7 separate regions of the Homo sapiens genome follow, and regions 1, 2, 3, 4, 5 and 7 are each linked to region 6. The links are contacts of gene promoters, found by promoter capture Hi-C in blood cells and fetal thymus (Javierre and others, 2016). All regions are on one chromosome and are shown on one strand. The core of a region is centred on a gene start or on the middle of the fragment in contact, and the rest is flanking DNA. Distances in the headings are between cores, read along the strand shown. Region 1 overlaps DLEU7-AS1 (DLEU7 antisense RNA 1). Region 2 has its middle 69 kb from the start of RNASEH2B-AS1. Region 3 overlaps DLEU7 (deleted in lymphocytic leukemia 7). Region 4 has its middle 52 kb from the start of RNASEH2B-AS1. Region 5 overlaps RNASEH2B (ribonuclease H2 subunit B). Region 6 holds the start of KCNRG (potassium channel regulator). Region 7 has its middle 31 kb from the start of RNASEH2B.

Region 1 (2,789 bases), core at 158-2,657, 830 kb after region 6:
TTTATATTCTTTGGCATTTTTCCTCAAAAAGGATCCAAGAGAATTCCAGAAATAGAGCTGTTAACCTTCAGCGCACCCTGGTGAAGTTCATAGGTGAGGTCAGAACAAAACATGTCCAAAGAGACCAAAGAGTTATTATTCGTGAATGAAAATTATGATTGAGGAGAAACAGATGCTGAAGAGATACACCAAGATATGAAAATGTACTGTCAAAGAGAAAACAATGGAACTAGGACAAGGTGTAGGCCCAAGAAAGAAAGAAAGAGCAAAAAAGACCAAATTCTTTTTTTTAAACGTACCATTGTAATGTTTGAATATGCCAAGTTATAAAAGTAAATGCACGTGCCCTTCTAACTTTGGCCTAAACATTTGATTTTGGTGGATAAAACAAAGACGCAATACCGCCCTGAAGTCTCTGAATTGCCAAAAACAATTGTTTACATAGGATGGTGTGCTTTCAGAACATCATATGCACTACCTTCCCAGACCTTGTGAAGCTGGTGAAGTTTAATGAAGCTAGAGAAGAAAAATAGACAAGAGTGGGTAAAGGGAAAGAAAATAAGTTAAAAATGTTAACTCTCACCTGCCAGTCCAGATGTCATCTGATGTACATTTGCGCCTTTGCAATTTGTCAACACAAAATGCATTTCTTTCTGGACATATAAATCATTGTGCTTGGTTCTGTCTTAATAATCAGTTATTTGGTTTCGGCTTAGTAATCAGTTAGTTTATTTCCAAGGAGAATTATTGATATTGGCAGAAAAAAATCAAAAGTGGATTTTTTAAAAGTCAATATAATTTTTTCTAATTATTGTAGCTTTGGTGGATGATTTCAAGTTTAAGAGTGACGGAATGCCATGAATTTTCATGCTGCCTACATTTCAGTAAGACAACCTTGCTGGATTTCCCCCTCCATTTTGGATTATAAAATCTAACCCCTGCGGAACATCCTTTCACTTGGAGAGAAAAATTTACTTGGAAAAATTTCACTTGGAGAGAAAACCAAGAAAGCTTCTTGGTTTCCTGAACTATTTTGATTATCTGTGTAGATATGGCTTATAGTATTGAAATGAGGTGGCAGAAAGAGTAGTAGTGATAAAAATGGAGAAGAGAAAGGTCAAGTGAGTTTCAGTGATTTTGCCAACTAAATTCTAGGATCCTTAATGAAAAAAATGTGACCACCTTTATCACTTTCCAGGATCATCCTGTATTTTCAAGTTTCAGTAGGTACCCTTTTACTGTGATGGAAAGAAATGCTTGACTTGGGTCTATATATTTAAATTTATTTTTATTTTTTATTTTTATTTATTTATTTATTTTTGAGACAGAGTCTTGCTCTGTCGGGCAGGCTGGAGTGCAGTGGCACAATCTCAGCTCATCGCAACCTCTGCCTCCCGGGTTCAAGCAATTCTCCTGCCTCAGCCTCCTGGATAGCTGGGATTATGGATATGTACCACCACACCCAGCTAATTTTTGTATTTTTAATAGAGGTGGGTTTTCATCATGTTGGCCAGGCTGGTCTCAGACTCCTGACCTCAAGTGACCTGCCCATGCCCACCTTAGCCTCCCAAAGTGTTGAGATTACAGGTGTGAGCCACCACACCCGGTGTTATATTTAAATTTTTTAAAAAATCTTCTCTGTACCTTTCCTTACATTCATCCTCATTCCCTTACACACTTCTTTTCCTCTAAGGAATTTTCTCCTCTTGTTCTCCAAGTTCTTTTCTGGCAGGCTTTATGGCCGAGCAGACATTGGAGTTTTATCTACTCTTTCATCTGCTCCTCTCTTCCGTCTGTTTTTCCAAAGCTTCCTTTCCTATGGTAATTACCATGAAAAAAGGGGGCAAGGAGAGGGGGTTGAGGGGCCACATGGTTCTTTTGCTTAGCTTTTGTTACAAGATCACTATGGGTATATTCATGAAGTCAAAACTTCATCTGGGGAGGTTCAATGTAATCTCCAACTCTTAAACCCTGAGTGCAGCAAGGGAGAACTAAACTAGTTTTGAAAACTGGACTAGAGCCTTCCCACATTGTCTGTCTGTGCTAGGAAAACAAGAGAAGCCAACAGATGTGTTTATTTTATTTGTTTGATCATTTTGATCACTTTTGTTTCAAAATATTGTTAAGAATGGTCAGAAGAGTTGACATAGGTAAAATATGTTTTTAAAATAAATACTTGAACATGATTGAATTGACTCTTTTTCTTGGAGGAAAAAATATAAAATATTTTAAAGTATGTTTACATAAAAATATATATATTTTAGCATAAAGTATATCTCTTTTTAAATTATCATCATCTGTTTCTCTAATATTCACTCTTAATTAGCAAGTGGATCTTAAAGATGCTGATTTGACCGTAAAATGCAAATGGTCCACAGAAATAATCAAATTTCAAGCTTTTGTTCAAAAAATCATATGTACATTTTATTTTATCTGTACTTTCCATTTGAAAATTGAAACCACATTCATAAGGATCTTAAATGCCTCTGTTCAAAAATCTAAACTTTCTCAAAAGTTTAAATCATAGACTTGATGGATCATTTCTAGTTAATGATAGGTAATTTGTTAAAGAAGCATTGAAGGTGATTCTTAATGTCCTACTCACTTTTGCTAAGAACAAAAATCGAATACTTTCTCTATGTTCATTTTAATGTACAATCTATTTAACAGTGGCTTATTTTTAAAGAATTTTGAGTAATTATTATTCCATGACAGGGTAAAATATATAATACATATGATGAATCCATCATGTATATTATAGTCTACCTTGATCATGAGAGACTTCAAGC
Region 2 (2,711 bases), core at 51-2,550, 960 kb after region 6:
AAGTGCTGGGATTACAGGCGTGAGCCACCGCGCCCGGCCCCCAGTTAATGCTTTTCAACACAACCCTTTATATTTCCGAAGAATAAAGACTTGTAAAAGAGATGGGGGAGTTATGGCTGCAGAAAACTGGCCCTTACTTTGCTCTGCTGACAGTTTTATAAGGCCAAGGAAGTTCAAAAAGTAAAAAGACTTTCTAAGCAATTCCACAGAAATTCTAAGCATTTTCAGGAAACCCATTTTTAACTTTAAAAAAATATTAATACAAGATTAGTTGCAGTGATTTAATTAGTAAACCATGACAGATGGTTAACATGCAGCATTTTTTTTTTAATGTGAACAAAATCACCAGTTTTTTTTTCAGTTTGTTTTTTCTTATTAATCTTGGGTAAAGATTCCTTGGGTCTTCAAAGATAACTACTCAGTCTACTTTTTAAATGGATAGTTTGTCTGAATAATTTTGTTAAAGCTTTAGTAAATGAATGTTGGGAGTGTAATTTCCAGAGTACAGGCTGAATGCAATGACCCCTAACACAGCCCAGATCTGGTCACCATGGACTGATGGCAGAGAGGATCCAGATATTTTGGTTGGATTCATGATTAGAGACTAAATCAGTATGATGCCTATGAAAAGGTCTGGTTTTTAAATATTTGCCATGGAGCTAGAGTAGAAGGCAGGGTGACAGAGGCAGCGGTGGCTGGAGTGTAACCAGCCCATGAATCTCAGGCAGGACAGGCTTGCATGCTTCTGTATATTTCTCTAGGAGAGAACACTGGGCTTCAAGGCTAGTCTGTTCTGTCTTCAGGCTCTAGGAATCTTCTTGTCAAACCCCTTCATTGGAAAAATGGGGCCTAGAAAGATTAGATGACTTTCCCAAGTGATAAGCTAAGAAAATACCCCGAATGCTTTAAATCCACCTTGAGGCTTCAATGTCTATGTGCTCTATAAAGTGAATCCCATATTGTTTTTCTTTAAAAGATTTTCAGAAATAGCTGCCTTTTACCCTTTACTCACACTAAAGTTTTGAAATACTAATGTTTCTGATTTGAAGATGGAGGTGGGAAGTTCATCCTCTATCCCCACCTCCCACCCCCAATCTCTTCTTTGAAATCATCCAAAGCAAAAGGAAAATAAGAAATGGAAACCAAAAAATCAATTTTCAGCAAAACTAGGAGGTATTTTAAACTATGAACAACAAATAGATGGAAGGACTGCAAAAAGCAGGGGAGCTTCCAGGAGAAAGAGGAAGGAAGAGTTCATGGCTGTGGAAATGAGACTGAGTCAGCAAAAATACATTTGTAAACAGAGAGGGCAGAGGTGAGGAATAAAGTCTAAGTCACATGTTTATGACAGAAGGAACCAGTATACACACCAGAACAGCAAGAACTCTCCAAGACCCAATTTAGTTGTGAAATGAAGAGGTGATGGAGTTAAAAAAAAAAAAATCACACATCCACATCACATTTGCAGGAACTATCTATCTCAGTGGCAGAGGGAAAGAAGAGAGACGTTGCTTTTTAAAAATCCCCATAGCTACCTGTCTTTATTGATCAGGGAGAAATAGAACTAAAACTTGCATGCAAAACCCTGGTTTATAAAGAAAATTCCTACTAGGCTGGGATGAGGCCCTGTAAATATTTGGCCCAAGGAAAACTCTTGTGCCTCAAAGATGAGAAACCAAAAAGAACAAACCCAAGTTATTTCAAAGATATGAAACATAAAACAAGAAAAAAAAAGACCAGAAAAAGTAAATGGCAGATAAAGTGTTGCCAAAGAGCAGATAAAAATAGTAAAAAGCATTTTACTACAAACATAAAATACTTAAACAATTACCTCTATGAAGTTTGGGCACAAAGTAGAGAGGGAAGAATCATGGAAGTCACAGAAAGACAAGTGATGTTGTTTGAGCTGGCGCACTACAGGGTAGGCATGGGGGAAAATGTAAACCATCAAAGAAACAAAGATGTGTTTGAAGGAAGATAGACAATAATAATAGCACAAGAGCTCAGAGGTTAAAAATAAGAAAACCAAGCAAAATGAAATTGATTTGGGTACAGGAAAGATTTATTAAACAGGACAAAAAGGTGAGCAAAATACTGATTTTTTAAAACCTGGTGATTGTAGAGTTCAAAAAAACAAGCTTACTTGTAAATATTAATGCAAAAATATTAAATAAAATATTACCAAATAGACTCAAACAATTCATTAAAAGAATAATACAATGTGACAAATTGGGGTTTATTCATAATATAAAGATGGTTCAATATTAAGAAGTCTTACCATATTAGTTATCTAAGAAAGAAATAAGGTATTATTAATCTCCTTAGATACTTAAAAGATACTTGGTAGCACTTCTTCTTGTCGCCATGTGAAGAAGGATGTGTTTGCTTCCCCTTCCATCATGATTGTAAGTTTCCTGAGGCCTCCCTAGCCCTGTGGAACTGTGAGTCAATTAAACCCCTTCCTATATTAAAAAAAAAAAAAAGATACCTAGTAAAATTCAACTGCCATTATTGATCTCAAAATAATTCAGTGAAATAGGAATAGATGTGTACTTCCCTAATTTATACAAAATAAAAGTCAACATTATGTTTAGTGGAGAAATATCAGTAGTGTTACCATTAAAGTCAGGAGTATGATAAGAATGTTTTAAACAAATAAGAGAGAGAAAATAGACATATACAAATTGAAAAGAAGTAAAATTATCATTACT
Region 3 (2,700 bases), core at 121-2,620, 810 kb after region 6:
GGGCATGCACCTGTGGTCCCAGCTACTCAGGAGGCTGAGGTGGGAGGATCACATTGAGCCCAGGAGGTCAAGGCTGCAGTGAGCAATGATCATGCCATTGCTCTCCAGCCTGGGCAACAGAGCGAGACCCTGTCTCAAAGAAAAAGAAAAAACAGATTATTGACCTTATGTATATAGAAAGTAAACTTGAGAAATAAAGATACAAACATAAGGCAAGGTAAACAGAAAGCACTAAAAAAGATAGTAGTAAGCCTACACATATCAGAAAGCACAACAAGTGCAAAGCAATAAACTCACCTTTTGGAAGATAATGATTACTATATTGGTTTTATATGCTGTTTACAAGAAACACATTTAAATCTAAAACCACATAAAGATTGAAAGTGAATGGATATTTAAATATATGCCAAGCAAAGAGAAGCCAAAATAAAACCAAAAAAAATCATTATTTGGGATGAAATAAAACTATGACTAATAAAATGAATGATTCCCCAAGCAGATGTCACAATTTTGTACCTGTATGTCCCTAATATGATAATCATAACATACATTCAGTCTACACACATACAAGCTGATTTTAACCTAGCTTCCTCTGAAACTAGATAGATCAAACAACAAAACAGAGAAAGACTGAAAAACACTAATCACAAGCTTGAGCCAATGGAAATAAGAAAATATACATTATTGTCAAACATATGTGGACTATTTATAAAGCTGTCTATATTATAATGTCACAAAGCAAATCTCAACAAATATCAGAAAGACTCTATCATGCAAATCACAATGCAAATAAATGAGAAATCAATAACATAGATACCCTTCCCAAAACATGTGTGACTTAGAAAACCCACTTCTAAATAATTCATGGATCAGTGAAAAAATAATTGAAAGTTTCAAATACTTTATACTGAACTATATCACAAATTTGTGGGATGTAGCCACAGTGAGAAACACTTTGACTTAAATGATTATGTAAATAAAGAATAATCCCTGAAAATCCATGAGCTAAAAATTCAACTCAATAATGTAGGAAAAGAGAAACAGATACTGTCACTCAAAAAAAATGGAAGGAAGAACTAAAAGTTGAACCAAAGTTTGATGAGGGACCAGAGTTTCCTTCCTAATTCTGTCTATAAGGGGAAACTATTCTTCTCCCTATGAAAAACCCTGTTTTTTGACCGAGAAGGACCTGGGTTTCTGACAAAGTGCTTATTAGAAAACATCCCTCAGAAACAAAACCAATGTTCATTTCAACTTAGCAAACAGTGGCAGCAGGACCACCTGCGAGCTAGGTGCCAGGACAGAACCATACCATGCTCAAGGATTCGCAAGCTACCATACTTTTTGTTCTTTTCTCTTTAAAGCATTCTTGCTTCCCTACCTTTGTGTGTTGCTCATTTCTGCCCAGAAGGTGTCAAAGAGCTGTTAAGATCAAGCCTGTCCAACCTGTGGCTCAAGATGGCATTGAATGCAGCCCAACACAAATTTGTAAATTTTCTTAAAACACTGTAAGATTTTTTTTGTGATTTTTAAAAAAAATTTAGCTCATCAGCTATCAGTAGTGTTAGTGTATTTTATGTGTGGCCCAAGACAATTCTTCTAATGTGGCCCAGGGAAGCCAAAAAATTGGACATCCCTGCTGTAGATGACCTGTCCCATAGCTTATGGGGTGGCCTGTGTGCTGAAGCATACTGCTAGGGAATGGGAAAGTAGGAGAGAAAAATCACTCTGGACTATTTCCTCAAGATCCACATCAAGGAAAATTGTCCGATTGCTTTATAGAAGTAATCCAATACTAACTACAAAGTATAAGGATCAAAGAAAACATGCAAGGGGAAATTCAAAATAGAAGGAACCACTAAAACGTGTGCTGACATGTGCCTATTAGCCAGTATGCAAAGGAATTCATCACCCAAAGAAGACTAAAATGCCTTTAAAAATATAGTTGTGGGCAGAAAACCTGAAGTCAATTTCATGTTTTACTGTAAAGAATCAAAGAAGGTGTTGCTTGGGGAAATTACATGTACAATAAAATTCGACTGCTGGGCTGTACTGGTCCCTGAGGCCCTGGGCAAACTTCAGATCTCTGGCAAGCTTTGCAAACTCACTTTATTTTACTATTCTAGTACAGTATTTCCTTTTTATCCTTTCTCAAATATATTAGCAAAGAAAACAAATTAATAGGAATAGGCTTTCCGTGGGACTCTTAAGCCAGGGTAGGGAAAAATAAAACAGGTGTGTGCTTCTCTACCATTCCAGAAGGTCTGAAGGCCAACTCTGGATCCAATAATCATTGCCTTCGACCAAACTTCTGCTGAGTCTGCAATGGAAGGTAGGGGTCACAAGTCACAGCATTAAGGCAATAGTATATTAAATGGCTCATGGGCTTTCAGTAGAAACTCACATGATCAATATTGGTGATGATTTCACTTAGGATGCTTTCCATTCAACAACAAAGCCTATCCTCCCAGCCGCTTTTATTTAGCAAATCCCAGATGCTCCCAGAAATGATGTAATATCCTACACGATGCTTTGAGTACTTTGCCAGAATTAGAACTACATGGTTGAGCAATCTAAAAGCAGGTTTTGAAACTTCTAAAGCCTTGTGTAATTTCAGACTCTGGATATGAAATGTATTGATTACTACAGCAGTCCAAATTGATGGCCAGCATTTACATTTTTAAGCCAGTTGAGATACTC
Region 4 (2,700 bases), core at 196-2,695, 950 kb after region 6:
ACTTTGATCACTTGATTAAGGTGCTGCCTACAGTTTTCATTGTGAATTATTGTTGATTATTTTTATAATTAATAAGTAATTTGTGGGTAAGTATTCTGGGACTTTGTAAGTATCCTATTTCTTATCGGATGTTTGCCCACTATTTTTAGGATCTGATGATTTTCTAACTTTCATTTCTTCTATATTTATCAGTTGGCATTCTTCTGTAAGGAAGAACTTTCCCTTTTCCTTGCTTCTTCCCTCATTTATGAATTCTTAACAGTATGGATTTATAGATTTTTATTTTATCCAGTGGGCTATATTGCATTATTATTATTAATTTTAATGCTCATGTTGTTTCAGAAGAGCTAGTGGGAGACCCTTCAAGCTGACTTGTGTATCTTTTGGGTATGTTTCTATCATTCTTTAATACATTCCTGCTTCTGCGACTGGAGTTTCAGCCTCTTGTCCTGTGCAAGCCCTGAATCCACCTTTTTTTCAAAGAACCCTGGTTCCTTTCAGTGAAGAATGGTATTTAGAAACCAAGATCTAGGCAGTAGGTATGCTCATTGCTATTGGTATGTCATTGCTTAGGAGCCAAAGCTAGGAAATGTGTGTGTGTGTACAACATGTACACACACATATATACACTATATACTCGTATCAACATTTCTAAATCTATCCATGTATCTATCAGTATTTATCTATGTGTGTGGTTTTTTGTAGATTCCCTTTATCAGGCTGAGAAAGTTTCCTTCTGTTCCTAGTTCACTGAGAGTTTTTATCATATATAGGTATTTATCATATGTGGATATTGTCAAATAATTTGTATCTACTGAGATGATCAAGTAGTTTTCTTTTTAATAGAGGAATGTCTTTTAATATATGAATTATAATGATTGATTTTTGAATGTTAAACTAATTTTGCATTCTTGAGATAATCCCTACTTGGTCACAGTATATTATTCTTTTTATATGTAGTATGGGGTTTTTTTCCTAATATTTTGTTAAGTACTTTTTTGTATCTCTGTTCATGAGGGATATTGGTCTGTGGTTTTCTTTACTTGTAATGATTTTGTCTGATTTTGATGTCAGAGTAAAACTGGGCTTATAAAATGAGTTGGGAAGTATTCTTTCATCACTTATTTTCTGAAAGAGTTTGTGTGAGGTTGGTGTTGTTGCTTCCTTATATGTCGGACACAATTCACCAGTGAAGCCATTTGGACCTGGAATTTTCTTTGGGGGAAACTTTTAAATTACTAATTCAATTTCTATAATAGATGAAGAGCTATTCTAATTTTCTTTTTTTTTCTTGTGCCAGTTTTGGTAATTTATGTCTTTCAAGAAATGTATCCATTTGATCTAGGTTGTCAAATTTATTGGCATAAGTTGTTCATCACATTTTTATTATCCTTTTAATGTCTGTGGATCTGTAGTGATATTCCCTTTTTCATACCTGATGTTGGTCATCTGTGTCTTCTTTTTGCTTTCTCTGTTAGTATAGCTAAAGGTTTGTCAATTTCATTGATCCTTTCAAAGAATCATTGTCTTCTGGCTTGCATAATCTCTGATGAGACATCTATGATATTTCTTATATTTCTTCTCCTTTACATAATGTGTCTCCTCCTCATGGGTTCTTTTAAGATTTTCTTCTTTATTACTAGTTTTCAGCAAGTTGACTATGATGTGTTGATGTGGTTTTCTTTTTGTTTATCTCATTTGGGAGTGTATTAAGCTCCTTGAACTTTTGAGTTTTTAATTTTCATCAAATATGGAAAATTTCTGGCCAATATTTCTTTAAATACCTTTTTCCATTCTTTCCTCCCTTTTCTCCCTATCCCCTCAGCTTCTGGCCTCCAATTTCATGTATGCTGGAACACTTGGTATTGTCCTCCAGGTCCTATCACTGAGTTTCTGTTTTGTTGGTTGTTTGTTTTTTTATGTTCCATTTTTAGACAGTTTCTAGGTGTATCTTCAAGTTTACTTTGATTTATAGCATTTCATCTTCTGTTAACCTTAGTTATTTAATTTTTACTTTAAATATTGTAATTTTATTTATTTATTTATTTATTTTTGAGATGGAGTTTCGCTCTTGTTGCCCAGGCTGGAGTGCAATGGCACAATCTCAGCTCGCTGCAACTTCCGCCTCCCGGGTTCAAGTGATTCACCTGCCTCAGCCTCCCAAGTAGCTGGGATTACAGTCATGCGTCACCAGACCTGGCTAATTTTGTATTTTTAGTAGAGATGGGGTTTCTCCATGTTGGTCAGGCTGGTCTTGAACTCCCGACCTCAGGTGATCCGCCCACCTCAGCCTCCCAAAGTGCTGGGATTACAGGCCTGAGCCACCACGCCCGGCCTTAAATATTGTAATTTTTAGTTCTAGACGTTCCATTTGGTTCTTCTTTATGTCTTCCCGTATCTGTTCTTATTATGCTTGCAGTTTTCTTTAAATACTTCAATATAGTTAAAATAGCTACTTAAATGTCCTCATTTGCTAGTTCTATTATCTTTGTTATTTTCTATCTTCTAGGTCTATTTTTCTCCTCTCTCTTTTACTTTATTTTGAAATAATTTTATACTTTTCTAGAAAAGTCACAAAAATAGTAGAGTTTAGATATGATGTTCACCCAGCTTCCCTCAGTATTAGCATACATGACCATACTACAAAGATCAAAACCAGAAAATTTACCTTATTGTACTTTCACCTATCTTTCCACTAAT
Region 5 (2,700 bases), core at 168-2,667, 920 kb after region 6:
GGGTCATGGGCAAGGCCATACATCTGGTACAGTCTGGTGTCCCCAAATCAGGGGGCTAATACCTTAATTTAGACAAACTTCACCTCTACTTGCTACTAGTACAGTTACGAAAAACTAGACCTAATTCCAAAGAATGATGTTGTGAATCCATATGGTCTGCACTTCTGGCCCACTGGCAACCAGGCCATATAAACTTCTGTGGCTGAGCCTGATTTAGCCTGTCTGCAGCTTCCCATGACTTCTCCCTCTGGCTGTCTTTTCTTTTATTCTGGTCTAAATTTGGAAGCATTGTGAGGCAGCTTTGACAGGGGTAGATTCACTTTTGTATTTTCTTTTTGTGGCGGGTGCTTCTTTCATCATCCCTAGAGTGATGATGGGGAGGCAGATGTATGTCTGGGCCTGGTCTGGGCTTGTTCCAATGTGACAGTCAGGACTCTTGCTCTGTGACCACAGCTGGTTCTTCAAATTGAATGGGTTGGACCATCCCCAGGCAGTCTCCACCATCTTTGCAAGCTTCTGTGGCTTCCAGTGCTTTTGTAGATTGATTTTCTTCCCCATTTCATTTGGGGACTGTACACCCAAGGTAGATGGTGTGCTGTGTGGGACTCCAGTGCTCACAGGAGCTTCCTGAAGGGAGCTGGGGTCCGTCCTAGAGCCTGTCCCATTGTAGGGATTCCTTAGATGGAATAGGTGGCTTCTGCACTAAGTTTAAAGGCCCAGCCATGAGTTAATGTGTCTTTTTCTCTTTTTTTCTGAATGTCTTTGTTGAATGAAATGCTTGCTTTCCAACTAACTGTTTTTTCAGGGGAAGTTTCAGCCCCTTGATCAAGTTGTGGTGGATAACGTGTTTCCAAATTGCATCTTGTTGCTGAAACTTCCTGGACTTGAGAAGTTACTTCATCATGTGACAGAGGAAAAAGGTATGGTATAACTTAAAGGCTTATGGCTGGTAGAAAGGATGGACCTTGCCTAAGAACGTGGCTGCTTACAGACACACTGAATGTAAGGCTTATTCTGTGTCCACCATAGGGAAAACTATCATTCAGATTTGCTAACACTGCCAGCACTGTTCCTCTATTGCTTTGGAGTGTTTAGTCTTTGGAACTACAACCATGGCAGTCTAGGGCCTACGTCCACAGGGCAGGAATCACAAGGTGTGGCTTCAGTCTCACTTCTTCTTTGAACTAGTTCTGTGACATCAGGCAAGTCACTCAGCTGCCTTCTGCCTCAGATGTCTCATTGTAAAATTACGTAAAACCTGTACCTTAATAGATGGAAGCATTTATCGAGCACCTTCCAAAAAGCATATGTTGCACATTAGTGCTAAGCTCTAGATACTTATGAATAAGACATTGTCCTTTTCTTCACTTTGCGCCCAGTCTGATGGGGGTCAATGACAAGCTGAGCAGTGACCGCACAGTGTAACGGAAGTGAACTCTGAATTTACTGGGGATGCACAGGACAGGTTTCTAATCTGGCGGGGTTGGGTGGGGAATGTAGGTGGGTAGATGTTGTGTTGCTTTCCTGGGGGAAATGACCTCTTTATGGAGTCCTGAAGGATAGTCAGAGAAGCAGTGTAACAGAGGCTCAGATGTATGGAAAAGTTTGTCAGGTTCAGGAAGTTCCAAGGAGTTCAAAGTATAGGATTCTGGGGAAGGATGTAGGTTGGTAAGGAATGAGGCGGGAATGCTGGGCATGGGTCCAGATGGTAAAGGGCCCTGTGTGTGTTTGGACTTTGCTTAATGGTAGTGGAGTGTCTGTGAAGTTTTAAGCATGGCAGTCTGCAGTGTGGAGAGTATATTGGAGAAGCCAGGTCCACCAAGGCTGTTGCAGTGATCCAGACAGGAGATAATGGTGGCCTTGATCTTAGGAGATAGAACAAGAAGAAAGTAGCCATTTAGAGATGGACCCAACTGCATCTGGTTGTTGGGTGGTGGTCAAGGAGAAGGAGGAGTCAAGAGTGACTTCTCGGTTTGTGCCTGACCCAAAGGATGTGTAGTGGTGGGATCCTGGACACAGGGAACATGGGCTGGAGGAGCAGGATAGGGTAATGAAGAGATGCGTTTTCACTATCATTCATTTAATTTTTCAGAGGGAAAAGTAAGGCAGTGTGTGTGAATGTGTTTTGACAGGTTAGAAATAGTATAAAAACTTGGCTTTGGTGTCTTAAAAAATCATCCAAGTAGTTTCAGGGTTAATATGGAAACAAAGTGTGGGAACCAGAGCATCAGGCTGATAAGTTGTGGCTGTTTGGGTCATAGATGGTTTGGCCAACTATGACAGTTCTTCTGGGACCAAGAAAGTGGTGATTCCAAGAAGTGTAAGCTTACAGTGGGAAAGAGAAGAACCTTATTGATTGCATTTTATGTTTAAGGGGTCCAGTAAATTCATACTTGGCCACACTTGGAGCTCCAGTTTGGAACTGAGGGGTATATGGTGCCAGGGTTTTATCAAAGCAGTTCCATTAAAGACATTCCCTGATGCTGAGTTTGGCAGAAGACAGCAGTCTTTTTGTGGGTGACCTGAATTAGCCCATAACCACTTTTAAAAGATAAAGTAATGAAGAATAATTTAATTAAGCCATGTTAATTTTTGTCAACTTAATGCAAGCTGAAAATGCAGTTAACTCATTGTCCAGAATTCTGCTATTAGCTGTATAAGAACAATCATCTTAAAACCCAGAAATCCAGATTTAGAAAC
Region 6 (2,835 bases), core at 272-2,771:
TGTGTGGGAGACAACTAAAGGTATTGAAGGTACTAATTAATTAGATTTCCAAAATTTTCTACAGAGAGTTAATTATCACCAAAATGTGAATGGTACATACAAAACCTGGCATTTTCTTGTGATAAGTTTACATTTTTAGGAGAGTGGAGCTTTCAATCTGCCCTTTTCTCCTTTGTTTTTGTAGTTTTCACCAAAGATGATCAACTAGAAATGTTAAGTGGCTATGCAAGCAAAAGCATAGATAGGTTAAAAAAAAGGATCAGCTGGCTGGGCAGGGTGGCTCATGTCTATAATCTCAGCATTCTAGGACAGTGATGTGGGAGGATTATTTGAGGCTAGGAGTTCCAGTTCGAAACCAGCTTCGTAAACATAGCAAGACCCAGTCTCTACCAAAAAAAAAAAAAAAAAAAAAAAAAAAAAAAATATATATATATATATACACACACACACACACATATGTACACATACATATATATACATATATATGTATATATAGAACACATGGCAAGAGCAGGAAATGGGAAGACTACCTTTTTTCTGGCAGCTATGTGTTGTTTTGTTCGAAAGATGGCAAGTGTACAACCAAACCAATCCACTTGCTTACAGAAAGAATGTTTAGTGTAGTTAAGACTAATTTGACAACAGATAAAACAGTCTGTCAGCTATTACAAAGTAATCAGCTGAACACTAATGCTGTTCTGTCTGCTCACAAGAGATAAAGATACCCTCTCATGGAATAAACACCTTGCTTAGAATTCATATAACAAAGAAGTAACCTTATAACTGCTCTCTAGTCTGCCTTATTTGTGTCATAGAGTAAGATATTCCTTGAAAGCCCATTAAGTGGAATAGACTTTCTGAAAATAAGAGTTCTTTACCTCAGTCCTCCTCTAATTTGGTTGAGAGGAGGTAATGAAAATGGGGACAGGATAAAAGGTGGCAACTAAATTTAAAGCACAGAAGAAATGATTTCCTTCTAGCTATGAGAATAGTCAAATTGAGCTTGCCAGGCTGTCTCATTCCTAACATGTAATTCATGATTTAGCCACTAAATTTCTAAGGAGATCATAAGAAATTAAGAAAAACGTTTAAGTCTAGCCTCTGCGTGGTAGACAGGTATGGGGAGGGAGAATGCTTTTCCCCTCCCAGTAATAAAAAAAAAAAAAAAAAAAATATATATATATATATATATATATATATATATATATATATATATATATATATATATAGTTTTACTAGGTTTTCATGGATAAGTTTTTAAATGTAAGACAGGAAAGGGATCTATTTGATGTCTATCTTCAGATATATTGGCAGTTTTCCTTAAGCTATTTAGTTCCTCATCTGTTGCTTTTTCATTTTGTATACTGCAAGTTCCCAGGCAACTCGAATTTGCAAACACAGCCATGGATACACTATTTACCTTACAGTAGTTTCCTGGGAATCTAAGTCTGGTTTTTGTTATTCTTCCCTCCCCTCCACTGCATAATCATGTATAACTAGCAACATTTATGGTTATAGGTTGATTTCCTAAGTGTGGCTGATGGTAGCCTCTAGTTTGAAGTGAGGGAAGAATGAGTAGTCAGGAACTGGTCACTTTGAATGTGGGAGGGAAGATATTCACGACAAGGTTTTCTACGATAAAGCAGTTTCCTGCTTCTCGTTTGGCACGCATGTTAGATGGCAGAGACCAAGAATTCAAGATGGTTGGTGGCCAGATTTTTGTAGACAGAGATGGTGATTTGTTTAGTTTCATCTTAGATTTTTTGAGAACTCACCAGCTTTTATTACCCACTGAATTTTCAGACTATCTTAGGCTTCAGAGAGAGGCTCTTTTCTATGAACTTCGTTCTCTAGTTGATCTCTTAAACCCATACCTGCTACAGCCAAGACCTGCTCTTGTGGAGGTACATTTCCTAAGCCGGAACACTCAAGCTTTTTTCAGGGTGTTTGGCTCTTGCAGCAAAACAATTGAGATGCTAACAGGGAGGATTACAGTGTTTACAGAACAACCTTCAGCGCCGACCTGGAATGGTAACTTTTTCCCTCCTCAGATGACCTTACTTCCACTGCCTCCACAAAGACCTTCTTACCATGACCTGGTTTTCCAGTGTGGTTCTGACAGCACTACTGATAACCAAACTGGAGTCAGGTATTTTGTACTTTGCAGTATTTCTCTTGTATACCAGTTTGTGATGTTTTCTCTAAAAACTTGAAGTTCCTCAGGCCTGTAACTTCTGGAAAAGATGATTATTCAAAATAATGTTTTGGGGTAACCAGTGGAGTTGGGTAGAATGACCAAATAATTATTTTCCAAACTGGGATACTTTTTAGAGTGAAAGGGGCTATTATTAGGTGGGACAAAAGGAATAAATGAAGACTGCCCAGAAAAAACTGAGACTATGGACATTCAAATCATGGGAGAAAATAATTTTGTAGATTATGTTCCATTGCTAATGAATTTGACTTAGAAAAGAATTGCCTTATTTTTAAGAGATTGTTTCAGTGGTTCACATAAAGGCTCGCTCACTGGTTTCTCTTGAGTTCCTTACACACTATATAAGTTGTTCTTTCAGTTTTATGATTCAACTACTGTTTTTCCTTCAGCTGACTTTATTTTTAAACACCCTTAAAGACAGATATATCTCATGGCAAATTTGGTATCCTGTTACAGCCTTGGCTCTTAAACAACTCAAAATATTGGGATAGGCTGTCAGTATGTTAAGGATAGTTGCTCCTGAGTCAATTCTTCACTTACTCCCTCTGTTGTTCTTGGCTGGATCCTAACGCTGATTTCCACTCTGCTGTCACAAACATTTTTCCCCCCGTAAAATGTCT
Region 7 (2,700 bases), core at 95-2,594, 860 kb after region 6:
TTCTCTTTATGCCTTACAGCCCAGCCACCAACTTCTTGGGTTGCTGGGGCCTTTTCTTTGCCTAAACTCTGCCTCCACATCTCAGAGCCTTAAGATAGCTCTTCCTCCAGCATTCAATAGGTGGCTACAATGTACTCAGTAGAGACCTTGTGTAGGGAGGGTGGAGGTAGGGGTGAGGTGGGTGGGTAGGGTTGAGGGGATTGGAGAGTTGAAAGGGTTTTCGGGAGCATCTATTTCTCTCAGTTCTCCTGCTTTGCCTCTGGCTACTGCAGGCTGCTGCCTTGCATTTGGTGAAAGCCTCGTGCTTTCTAGGAGGGGATTTCTTTCAGCTTTCCTGCCTTACCCCCAGTGTGTAATGGGGACTGCCTTGCAATGGATGAACCTCACATGCCTTGGAGAATCCCTCTTGCTTCTCCTGCCTTGCTTCCTGTGCTCAGTGGGCTACTTTCTTGTACTTTGGGAAGACCTGGTGTACCTGGGGAGGGTATTTCTCAGTTCTCCTACCCTGGCACCAGCTTTCAGTGTACGACTCCCATCCACTCAATGGAGGCTGGGTGGGTACAGACTAGTTCTATTCCTGGGGTACCTTGTGATTCTACTCTGTTATGCCAACCCATATACAATCATCCAAAATTTGTTTAAAGATAGGCTGGTTTCTCCCTTCCTCTTCTGTGCTCCTTCCAACATGTCCCTAGGAACAAAAGCAGCTGTGGGACTCTTCTCTCTAGGAAGAGCTTGATCCTTTTGGAAATGTAGTTAATTTGAGGGATTTTTTTCTTTTTTTTTTTTTTTTTTTTGGCTCCTGGGTTCTCTGATGAGTGTGAAACATGCAAATGAAAGCAACAACAAATAAAACTGTCATTTGTAGTGCTTCTGGTCTGTTCTCATGGTTAGAGTAAGAGTGATAGACTCCTGCAAATTTCTGCATCTTATAAAAGAGTGGAGGCTTGTCCCCTCATTGGGTTTTGTACATTGTCTTTGGGCTGTAGGTTGTACCTGTCACTAAGGTACCTTAAATAAACATACACACACATTTCGTTTTTTAAAAATGGCTAAGTCAAGCCTCTAAGTTCAACATCCAAACTCCATGTGAAGGAGTTTCAACTTTCTTTGGTTTTCAAAAATCCCCTCTAAGATCTTCCATATTTGTGATGGAATTTACATAAAACATTTATTCAAAAAAAAGTTATTGAATACCTAGTATGCACTAAGGGCTGTTTCAGGACCTGGAGATGCAAGATAACAGTGCCATGGAGCTAACGTTCTAGTGGACTTCTGGAAAAACTAAGGGATCGTGACTTAGCTGTGACTGCAAGTCACATATGCAAGTTCACCACAGTTGACCTTTTGAAACAGTCATTTCAGGAGTTAAATTATAAGGAAAATTCATTCCAGACCTCTGCTGAAATAAACAATGCTTCTAAATTCTATAGAGATGTGTAGCCAGTGGGGAGCTGTCTGACTACATCAGTTTACAGACTTCTTTCAGCAAAATCAGAGATCCACATGGAAAACCAAGTATTCAGGAGCCTCTATGTATATTACAGCATGCCCTGGGGCCTCAAGCAGTCTCCTTTATGTGTAATTTTTTCATCTGTGACAGATTTAATGTGGATAATAATGCTTACTTAATAAGCAATCCAGTATAATTTAACAGAAGTTACTAATGTAAGTTCAAATGAGTTTTCATTTACAATTTTAAGAACACCATGTGTATGACAGGAAAACAGTGGGTGAAGAGCTGATCTAAAAAGCAAAAATGGTAACATCCTGAATTATGCCATAGAATCCATTTATTTTGATTAACCAGCTGAGACTATGAAAGGTGGAAAATGCATTTCATGGTAGATATACTTTAGGTATAATACTAAGAACTTAAACCAAAGGATTGTACCATTCACCTGACATATCATAAGACATGAAATCATGTTTACTTACATACTTTTAGTTTATCCATTAAAAAAAGAGTCAGCAAACTTTCTCTAAAGGTCCAGGTTGTAAATAGTTTAGGCTTTGCAGACTATAGTTTCTGTTGCAACTACTCTATTGTAGCATGAAAGCAGTCAGAGACAATAAGTAAATAAATGGGCAAGGCTGTGTTCCAATAAAACTTTATTTACAAAATCAGGCAGTAAACCAGATTTGGCCTGTGCACTGTAGTTTATCAACCCCTAGACCATCCTGGCTAACATGGTGAAACCCCATCTCTACTAAAAATACAAAAATTAGCCAGGTGTGGTGGTGGGCACCCATAGTCCCAGCTACTCGGGAGGCTGAGGCAGAAGAATCACTTGAACCCGGGAGGCAGAGGTTGCAGTGAGCCGAGATCACACCACTGCACTCCAGCCTGGCGACAGAGTGAGACTCTGTCTCAAAAAGTAACTAACTAACTAACTAAATAATAATAATAAAAATAAAATGTCATATTGGCATTGTAATTACACTCTCCAGAAGAAATTACAGGTTATGTACAAAATGTATTGCTCCATGACTGGCTACAGGCAGAATGGGTGGCTGTCTGTGTGTTATGACTCTATTAAAATATTACTGTATTATGGAAGTATTTCTAGACCTGTATGATGGAATTTTTTAGTGTGTATGATATCAATACATAATAACCCTGTGCCTGAGGGTGATTAGGGAGATAGATTCTCAATAGACTCTGATGTAGTAGGTTTCTTCTGAATGGGGAAGAATTGA

The links. Contacts are between HindIII fragments. The CHiCAGO score rates a contact against its expected background, and 5 or more counts as called.
Region 1: a fragment that was not itself captured here is called in contact with the fragment with the promoter of KCNRG in region 6 in 1 of 17 cell types (total B cells); the score reaches 5.4 in total B cells.
Region 2: a fragment that was not itself captured here is called in contact with the fragment with the promoter of KCNRG in region 6 in 2 of 17 cell types (total CD4 T cells and total B cells); the score reaches 6.5 in total CD4 T cells.
Region 3: a fragment that was not itself captured here is called in contact with the fragment with the promoter of KCNRG in region 6 in 2 of 17 cell types (fetal thymus and total B cells); the score reaches 7.2 in fetal thymus.
Region 4: a fragment that was not itself captured here is called in contact with the fragment with the promoter of KCNRG in region 6 in 1 of 17 cell types (fetal thymus); the score reaches 5.4 in fetal thymus.
Region 5: a contact is called between a fragment that was not itself captured here and the fragment with the promoter of KCNRG in region 6, in 7 of 17 cell types (naive B cells, total CD4 T cells, total B cells and 4 more). The highest score is 11.2, in naive B cells.
Region 7: a fragment that was not itself captured here is called in contact with the fragment with the promoter of KCNRG in region 6 in 1 of 17 cell types (total B cells); the score reaches 6.1 in total B cells.

Annotation. Positions count from the first base shown.
Region 1 is chr13:50,847,720-50,850,508 of GRCh38, forward strand. It overlaps DLEU7-AS1 (DLEU7 antisense RNA 1), which reads left to right. Exons shown (of 5, transcript NR_046551.1): 5 at 818-2,186. Among named protein-coding and RNA genes, the nearest start is that of DLEU7, 5.4 kb to the left of the region's middle. The HindIII fragment of the contact is 796 bases long and covers 1,010-1,805 here.
Region 2 is chr13:50,978,089-50,980,799 of GRCh38, forward strand. No RefSeq gene overlaps it. Among named protein-coding and RNA genes, the nearest start is that of RNASEH2B-AS1, 69 kb to the left of the region's middle. The HindIII fragment of the contact is 1,672 bases long and covers 465-2,136 here.
Region 3 is chr13:50,827,551-50,830,250 of GRCh38, forward strand. The region is part of intron 1 of DLEU7 (deleted in lymphocytic leukemia 7); the gene reads right to left. The region is part of intron 3 of DLEU7-AS1 (DLEU7 antisense RNA 1); the gene reads left to right. Among named protein-coding and RNA genes, the nearest start is that of DLEU7, 15 kb to the right of the region's middle. The HindIII fragment of the contact is 1,443 bases long and covers 650-2,092 here.
Region 4 is chr13:50,961,128-50,963,827 of GRCh38, forward strand. It overlaps a transcript of RNASEH2B not described here. Among named protein-coding and RNA genes, the nearest start is that of RNASEH2B-AS1, 52 kb to the left of the region's middle. The HindIII fragment of the contact is 4,044 bases long and covers 1-2,700 here.
Region 5 is chr13:50,934,080-50,936,779 of GRCh38, forward strand. RNASEH2B (ribonuclease H2 subunit B) reads left to right here. Exons shown (of 11, transcript NM_024570.4): 5 at 806-920. Among named protein-coding and RNA genes, the nearest start is that of RNASEH2B-AS1, 25 kb to the left of the region's middle. The HindIII fragment of the contact is 1,812 bases long and covers 512-2,323 here.
Region 6 is chr13:50,013,923-50,016,757 of GRCh38, forward strand. KCNRG (potassium channel regulator) reads left to right here and starts at 1,522. Exons shown (of 2, transcript NM_173605.2): 1 at 1,522-2,149. The coding sequence starts at 1,572. It overlaps TRIM13 (tripartite motif containing 13), which reads left to right. Exons shown (of 2, transcript NM_213590.3): 2 at 1-2,835. All of the region lies in intron 10 of DLEU2 (deleted in lymphocytic leukemia 2), which reads right to left. The HindIII fragment of the contact is 12,687 bases long and covers 1-1,930 here.
Region 7 is chr13:50,877,477-50,880,176 of GRCh38, forward strand. No RefSeq gene overlaps it. Among named protein-coding and RNA genes, the nearest start is that of RNASEH2B, 31 kb to the right of the region's middle. The HindIII fragment of the contact is 2,773 bases long and covers 1-2,700 here.